3 separate regions of the Homo sapiens genome follow, and regions 1 and 2 are each linked to region 3. Evidence: promoter capture Hi-C in 16 types of primary human blood cells and fetal thymus (Javierre and others, 2016). All regions are on one chromosome and are shown on one strand. Each heading gives the region's core, a stretch centred on a gene start or on the middle of the fragment in contact. The rest is flanking DNA. Distances are from core to core; before and after follow the strand shown.

Evidence for each region. The method cuts DNA at HindIII sites, captures the fragments that hold promoters and counts their contacts. A CHiCAGO score of 5 or more calls a contact.
Region 1: a fragment that was not itself captured here is called in contact with the fragment with the promoter of GNB5 in region 3 in 7 of 17 cell types (naive B cells, activated CD4 T cells, non-activated CD4 T cells and 4 more); the score reaches 8.2 in naive B cells.
Region 2: a contact is called between a fragment that was not itself captured here and the fragment with the promoter of GNB5 in region 3, in 4 of 17 cell types (activated CD4 T cells, total B cells, naive B cells and 1 more). The highest score is 7.7, in activated CD4 T cells.

Annotation. Positions count from the first base shown.
Region 1 is chr15:52,714,772-52,717,479 of GRCh38, reverse strand. No RefSeq gene overlaps it. Among named protein-coding and RNA genes, the nearest start is that of ATOSA, 37 kb to the right of the region's middle. The HindIII fragment of the contact is 7,050 bases long and covers 1-2,708 here.
Region 2 is chr15:52,751,758-52,754,462 of GRCh38, reverse strand. No RefSeq gene overlaps it. Among named protein-coding and RNA genes, the nearest start is that of ONECUT1, 37 kb to the left of the region's middle. The HindIII fragment of the contact is 1,805 bases long and covers 423-2,227 here.
Region 3 is chr15:52,190,036-52,192,735 of GRCh38, reverse strand. GNB5 (G protein subunit beta 5) reads left to right here and starts at 1,344. Exons shown (of 13, transcript NM_016194.4): 1 at 1,344-1,414. It overlaps MYO5C (myosin VC), which reads left to right. Exons shown (of 41, transcript NM_018728.4): 41 at 1-414. The region is part of intron 2 of CERNA1 (competing endogenous lncRNA 1 for miR-4707-5p and miR-4767); the gene reads right to left. RefSeq lists an enhancer at 747-1,246. The HindIII fragment of the contact is 7,593 bases long and covers 1-2,700 here.

The sequences.
Region 1 (2,708 bases), core at 174-2,673, 520 kb before region 3:
GCACCCGCCGCCACGCCTGTCTAATTTCTGTTTTTAGTAGAGATGGGGTTTTACCATGTTGGCCAGGCTGGTCTTGAACTCCTAACCTCAAGTGATCCACCCGCCTTGGCCTCCCAAAGTCCTGGAATTACAGGCGTGAGCCACTGTGCCTGGCCATACATTTCCTTAGTAGCCATATTGGGCCCACCTCTACCCCTAGCTTTTACCACCCCTGTTTGAGACCTTGGGTTTACCAAATGCATTCTGTGAACTGCAAAGCACATAAAGTTGGAGATGAAGATCTTGTCACCCATGGTTATGTCCTGCTTCAGTCCTTTTCAATGTCTCTTGGACTCTGATTTGGGATACATTGTGGATACCTGAGACATCTGGAATGCTCTAAGGGCCTTTAACCCAAGATGCACTTAATTCTGTGTGGTTTACCTGGCGTAGTTATCAATATTAAGAGAAAGAGTGAAACATTTTAAAAATCTCTACTAAGGAAAAACCATCTTGGGAATTCTGCAATTTATTATTTATTAATGGAAACTTTCATAAGACTAAATAAATGTTTTTATCTTTCAAGTAAGCATTTAATGGATTACTTTAAAAGAAAGACATGTTTTTATTTCTCATAAGTGAGTTTAGAACAATAACTCTAGATTTCAATTACATTCTCAGAGTTATCTGGCACAAACTGATGTCTCACAAAAGCAATGAAACAAACAAACAACAAAACCATGTTTTTCTGACTGGATTGTTGGCTAGCTGTCACGGCTATGTTCCAACCACAATAATTATAGTCCATCTACATATTTCTTTCCTATGATCCAGCTGGATTAGCCTGTAATAAAAAAAAAGCCATATCTTATACTTTTGAGGGCTCAGGCTTAGTAAAATCTCACCCCGTTATACTCTAAAAGTGGACTTTAAAAATTAGTGATTGACCAGGCACAGTGGCTCACGCCTATAATCCCTGCACTTTGGTAGGCTGAGGCAGGTGGATCCCTTGGGGTCAGGAGTTTGAGACCAGCCTGGCCAACATGGGGAAACCCCAACTCTACTAAAAATACAAAAGTTAGGTGGACATGGTGGTGTGCCCCTGTAATCCCAGCTGCTCAGGAGGCTGAGGCATGAGACTCGCTTAAACCTGGGAGGTGGAGGTTACGGTGAGCTGAGATCATGCCACTGCACTCCAGCCTGGGCGACAGAGTGAGACTGTTTCAAAAAATAATATAAAATGAAAAATAAAAATTAGTGATGAAGCAGTTTCAATAGCCCTATTTTGCAGCTGACTGAATTCTTAGCCATAAAGGCTACAGAATCAAGTTCATTTGTATGGCTTAAGGTGACAACATATTTAAATAGAAATCACACATTTTCCTAAAGTATGTTGCTGTATGATATTGCTGTAAATAAACATTTCCTTCTCTTTTATTTTTATTTATTTATTTTAGAAATGGAGTCTCATTATGTTGCTCAGGCTGGTCTCGAACTCCTGGCCTCAAAATATCCTCTGGCCTCAGCCTCCTAAAAAGCTGGGATTACAGGTGTGAGCCATGACACCTGGCCTGAATAAGCATTTCTAAGCAAAAATGTACTTATATTTCATGCATGAAGAAAATGCTTAAACATATGCACTATTGTGAAAACACATGAATGGGTAACAATTCTGTTTAAAACTATTTGGAAAAGAGTGTTGCTCAGTCAGGGAAATATCGTAATGCTAACAGAAACCTTAGAAGATTTTCCTGTTAGAGGATTTCCCCCAGCCCCACCGACAACCCAGGATTGAAAGTTTGGTGTCTTCTGTTACCTCCTTCCTTTTTTGTTCTCCCATGGCTTGGTAGTTTCTAAGTACCATGAAGTCCCTATGTGACCTTCCCTATTGCTGACCCCTTTTCCTTCTTTCGTCACAGCCCTGTCACCATTCACTGGGACTTTTGCAGGAGGCCGTCCCCTTCTTAGACCCAGGCAAGAGGAGCCCCTGTCCTGGCCATCCTCTGGCATTGCCTCTCTTGGCAAAGCGAGGATACTGCAGAGCTAAGGGACATGCCACTTCTAGTCTAAGCACCCATTTCTGGACCATGACTGGAACATCATTGTTTGGACTCTGTAATTCCTTGTCCAAACAGTCCTGAGCCTGCTTCCAGAGGCTATGCAGGCTCTTTCCTGGGGTCCAGCCTTCTGGCAATGAATGTTGCAAGTCCTTAGGTCTAAAGGGTAGCCTGGGGTGGCTGTTTGAAGGGGATGTGGTTATGCAGTTTGGATGTAGGAGTTCACCTCCCACATACGAGAGAGGCCTTCATGGTGCTACATGGTGTCCAGGGAAGAAGAGGAAGTGGGCTATGGGCACGGTGCCAGGGTCTTGGAGCCAGGGTCAGCTCTCTCTGTGATGCTACATTTTGTGTAGGAGTCTAAGAATTTTTCATTCAAACGCAGAAAGCTGGGCTCTGCATGCACCTGTAGTCCCTGATAGCTGGCAACCACTCCCAATGTATGAAATATAAGAACACTTTTGCTTAGAAATGCTTATTCAGCCCAGGTGAAGTGGCTCACACCTGTAATCCCAGCACTTTGGGAAGCCAAGGTAGGTGGATCACTTGAGGTCAGGAGTTCGAGACCAGCCTGGCCAACATGGTGAAACCCCCATCTCTACAAAAAAAAATAAAAATAAAAATTAGCTAGGTGTGGTGGTGCACGCCTGTAATCCCAGGTACTTGGGAGGC
Region 2 (2,705 bases), core at 76-2,575, 560 kb before region 3:
CCCTTTGCTTTTTAGAAATCGTGATGGACAAACTCAGCTTCTCACAAGCAATACACTTATTACATCATGTATGACTGATTCTTTACTTGCTCCTGAACTGGCATGTAGAAAAAAAACACAATGCTTCCATTCCTATTTAGTGTAACATTAATTTCTGGCTTGAGTTTTTTAATCTACATTCCACAGAGCAGGTCATGTGCCATTTGTTCACCCATCATTTCTCAATTCTTTTGCAAAATTCACCAGAAAAAGGTATCTATCTTACTCTTTTATTTGTACATGTGTTTATTCCAAAACTGCACTTAAAGTAATCCTTTTTTTTTTTTTTTTTTTTTTTTTTTTTTTTTTTTTTTTTTTTGGTAGAATGGAAGTTAGTCTGTTTCTGGCCATAAGACATTCAGGTCCTCTCATCACTGGAAGCTTTCCTGTAGAGGGCAGGGAGTTGTGACGTCTGGACACCCCAAAACCCCAGACTTCAGTAAATGTTCAGGTAAAAGAGCTCTGGATGTCAGGAATTGAGTATTCCAGTCCCTGGATGCAGCTGGAATAGACTCCAAAGACCAAAGAAAATGTGTGGGAAATCCAGAAGTCCTAAATGAACATGTCACTCACTGTGCCCCCTCAAAAAAGCGAAATTATTTTTCCAGGAAAATATAAAAGCACTACGCTACTTTTGGATTCATTCCACTCCCATTGCTACCCCAGGTGAATGACCGTGGTTGCAGGTTAAATGCAAACTTTGCTATACCAAAGAGTCCTAGGACATTTTCACATGAGCTATAAAGGCATATTCCCTAAGAAAGGTCCTCCCTTCTTTGTACATAAAGGATGAAAACTATGCATTTAGCAAACAAAGAGAAAGCACTTCTTTTTCTATCTAGTTGTTTAGGGTGCATTCAAACACCAGAGGCTGTTTTGAGACATGTTTGGCCTTCTGGGTTATTACTGTGGTGTGGTTAGCTTTACAGTACATTTGGTAACTATTTCCTAAATAGTAAGGACAAAGAAGCAGAAGGTAAGAAATAGCGACTTCCACGTGTAAAAAAAAAAAAGAAAAAGAAAAAAAGAAAAAAAAGTGTAAAGATCTACTATTTATAGTGTGAACCAAAGACGCTACCTCACTCAATTTCCATTGGTGATTTTAATCACATTGATGATACCAAAGAATACCAAAGATATTTTCATGCACGGTCTCAGTCTGCAGAGGGAACTCCGCCCCTTCCCTTCCCCCACCCCTCCCCCTTCCTAACTCTTCACTCAGTGTGTAAACTTGTCTTCATTCTTAATAATGATACAATAATGACAACAACAACATTAGGAAATACTACTCTTATTACTGCTAGTTCTACTTGTAAATCTCTAGGCAAACATGTTGCAAACTTTGTAAACTCCTAGGACGAGTGCCTTGCTTGAACCAAAGTGTTAAACCGCTGTTGACCTCTTTCACCTTATACTCTTTGAATACCTCAGCCTCTTAGAAAGGCCACTAATGAAAAAAAAAGGAATAATTATTCACCGTGGTGCTTTTTCCGTGCAACCATGCAATGAAACTTTCTTTGATACCAAAGGATGACTTTTTTTTTTCCCAATTTCTTGCTGATAAACCAAAGCTCCTCCTCCTTGTTCCCTCTCAAGTTCCCCCCACCTGACTTCACCTGTCCCTCCACCAGGCAGGCCGTGCATAACTTTTACCAATTCCTCCAAATACCTCATAGTAATAAAGTTTTAGGGTTATGTTGTATAGAGAGTCTATGTGATAAGGCAGAACTTACTAGTTTGATAATTGTTAAGGTTACTTTAAAAAAAACTTTATAATTCTTATTTATTTTGTAGTTTGTATGTTTGGGATGTCCCCCCCCCCTCTTTGATTTGGGGTTTATTTTCTTGGCAGAACTGCTCTATTGCTCAAGGAAGACTTAGTTTCTGGAAATATTCCCCGGGTGAGTTAAGGGTTGTGTAAAAATGCAAGAATGGAATACGAAATGATTTTCATTTTGATGGTTACTTATGAAGTTTTTGTGTTCCGTAGAAAATTTGTTTCCACAGGGTAAAAAAATATATATATATAAAATCTCTTTTCTGTGAAGCTGGTTCCTATTTTTCTCTATAATGTGCTGTGATTTTTTTTAATTTAATTACATTTTATATGAGCTTATTTAATCACTGCTTTAATTTATGACTGTGTAGTTTTTAAAATGTATATAGTAGAATCAAAATGGCCAAAGCTTTATGTTACAATCTTTTTGTTCTCGATGCTAAGATAAGCTGAAGGCAAGAGCTTCTCTTAACTGCAGGGTGTATCTTTAGCTTTTTCTTAGTAGGTACTTCAATGTGTGCTGTAAACACTGCCAGGTCCCCCTCAGAAACTTGTACATGCCAAAGTGAGTGTTTCAAGATAGTCCTTTTTGTCATTTAGACAGAAGAAAGGCATTGTTCGTGTTCTTCCTTTAATTTATTAATTTTTTTTTAGAAAAGATTACTTTGCAGGTAAGACCTGAAATTCCAAAGAATTTGAGACTTTTTTAATATTTCAAAGCACCGGCATTTGTGAGATACTTTGCTACTTCTTTTTTTTTTTTTTTTTTTTAACCATTCGCACGGGTATGAAAAGTAGAGTGTAAAAACTCAGAGAGACAAGCTAACTTGAATTTGGAAATCCTCTAGGTTTTCCCAAGTTTCTGAATTGCTTCAAGGCAGGGGGCAGG
Region 3 (2,700 bases), core at 95-2,594:
AAAAATTGTGTCGGACCCTACTTTTGAGAAATCTACGTTTCCCAAGTTTTATGGGAACTGGCTATTCCTTGTCCCGGCACACCTTCTCATTCCTTCCTTTCAGAGCCTAAAACCTCATTTGATAAGCACTCCTAGTCTCTGGCCTGTGGATCCAGTGCTATTCTGTCACCAACCTAAGAATCCCAATTGCACCTTCTGTTTCTGACAGTCACAGGTGACAGCTGTGATTCTATAATACAGACTGGTGTCTTAGAGGTAGGAATAATACATGATTATGAAGCATCACCCTGCTAATACATAATAATGTCTTTTTATATTATAAGTGATTGAGTTTAGTTCATTTCAATACATTGTACATGAAAAAATGAAAAGTAGAACTTTGTAATACTTTAATCAATAAAATTAATTACCAAATGAATTGGGTCAGATTCTTTCATTGCGAGGAGATGACATGTCTCTTAAGTGTACAAGTTGTATGCCTTTCTTTACGGTCATACTGAAAGATGCTAGAATCTTTATAGATTCATAATATCTCATTTAAAGTATATTAAAATGTTTAGAGAAGAAGTAAATATGTCATAAGTGCTGGCTTAGGCTGTGTCTCCAGGGCGCTTCCACACTGTCAGAATGAGGGGCTACTTGGCAGAGAATTGGCAGGGTTTCTGATCCTGAGCTGCGGCCTCCATGCCCTTTCTAGACCTTCCCCACACCATGAGGAGCCATCACTGTTGGTTTTCGGCTTCCATAACTCAGGATTTATGCCTGTTTTATAGCACTTACCCTGGACTGGAAGCCAGAAATGCTGCCCATTTCCTCTGTAGGCCTGTGAGCCCCAGAGGGCAGGTGCCACATCCTCCTCATCCCTGCCTTCATCCTACTGCTGATGAGGTGGGAAGAGAACTGAAGGAGCAAAGTCCCGTTGGAGGACTGTGTGTGTGTGGTGGGGAGTCAACCATGGGAAAAAGTAGGTCATGTTTGGGGACAGGGAGACCTGTGGAGGCTGAGGAGTTTATGTGTGGAAAAATGGGGAAAGGGAGGCACTCATCCCACAGTCTTGATCAGTTCTACAAAGCTGACAGTGGCAAGGAGACCAAAATAGAGAAATGTTAAGAACATGTGGCCCAGGTGAATGTGAGGGCTGCTCAGTGAGTGGGCGCAGACACAGAGGTCAAACCTGCCAAGGCCTCCCTCCACAGAGGGGCTGGGCAGGTTCCAGGGGTGAGTGAGGGATGCAGATGGCAGTGCGTGCCCAGCAGGGAGCATGGAAGTGCTGTGGAGGAAGGAAGCAAGCTGAGCAGCACTCCAGAGAAGATAAGGAGATTAGCCAGTGGGAGACGTGCTTCACACCTCAAGCTGCGCGCTGGTCCTCACCTCTCACCATCTGCTCTGTGGCTCCCAGTGCTGACTCTGGAAGGTATGTGCATGCTGACATTCGGTTAAAATACTCCAGCTTTTGAAATGCTCAGAAAAGCATCCAGATGAGTACAGGGCACAGTGTTAGCAGGTCTTTCTGTGCGGTGGGAGCATGGGTGAGGGGTTTTGTTGTTGTTAATCCGTAGAATCTAATTTTTCTACAATACACATGAATTTATTTTGAAATAGTAAATTTCAAATATTTCAAATTGAAATATTTCAATATTTTTTACATTAATATTGGCATCAGGAAAGAGATTAAGCATACTTAAAATCACTAAGTCAGTTTTAAAATTTGATCCAGGTGACACATGGCAACATAAGCCTCTGAGTACAGCTTATGGGGTTAGAAAGAGGTTTTTAGTTGTAAGTCTGAGATACATCCACATTGTGTGTATCAGTTATTTTTTATTCTATGCTCATTTCACAGTTTCGTCTGTGACTGGTGAACATTTGGGTCTTTCAAGTTTAGGCCTTCTATGAATAGCTGCTATGACATTTATGTTTTTTTTTTTTTTTTTTTTTTTTTTTTTTTTTTTTTTTTAAGGAAATAAGCATTATTTTCTGTGGTGTATGTATGCACGAGTAGAATTGCCTGGTCATAGACTATATCCGTTTCACTTTAGTAGCTCCTACCAACCAGTTTTCTACAGTGGTTATACCGACTTATACTCCCACTAGCAGAGAAAGGCAGTTCCAGTCTCTGCATCCTTGCCCACACTTTGTGTTGTCAGGCTTTTTAGGTTTTCTGATGGCTAAGTAGTTGTATCACATCGTAGTTTTACTTTGTATTTCTATGATGACTAATGATAATGAGCACCTTTTTATATGTTTATTGACCATATAAGTATCCTCATTTGTGAAGTGACTACACAAGCCTTTTGTCCATTTTAAAAATAATCTTTGGGCTGGGCGCGGTGGCTCATGCCTGTAATCCCAGCACTTTGGGAGGCTGAGGCGGGCAGATCATGAGGTCAGGAGATTGAGAGCATCCTGGTTAACACGGTGAAACCCCATCTCTACTAAAAATACAAGAAATTAGCCGGGTGAGGTGGCGGGCGCCTGTATTCCCAGATATTTGGGAGGCTGAGGCAGGAGAATGGCATGAACCTGGGAGGCGGAGCTTACAGTGAGCCGAGATTGCGCCACTGCACTCCAACCTGGGCGACAGAGCAAGACTCTGTCTAAAAAAAAAAAAAAAAAAATTTATTGAGATATGATGTCCACGTTTTGTTTCATGTTTTAAAACCCATCATTTTAAAACATATATTTCAGTGTTTTTTAAGT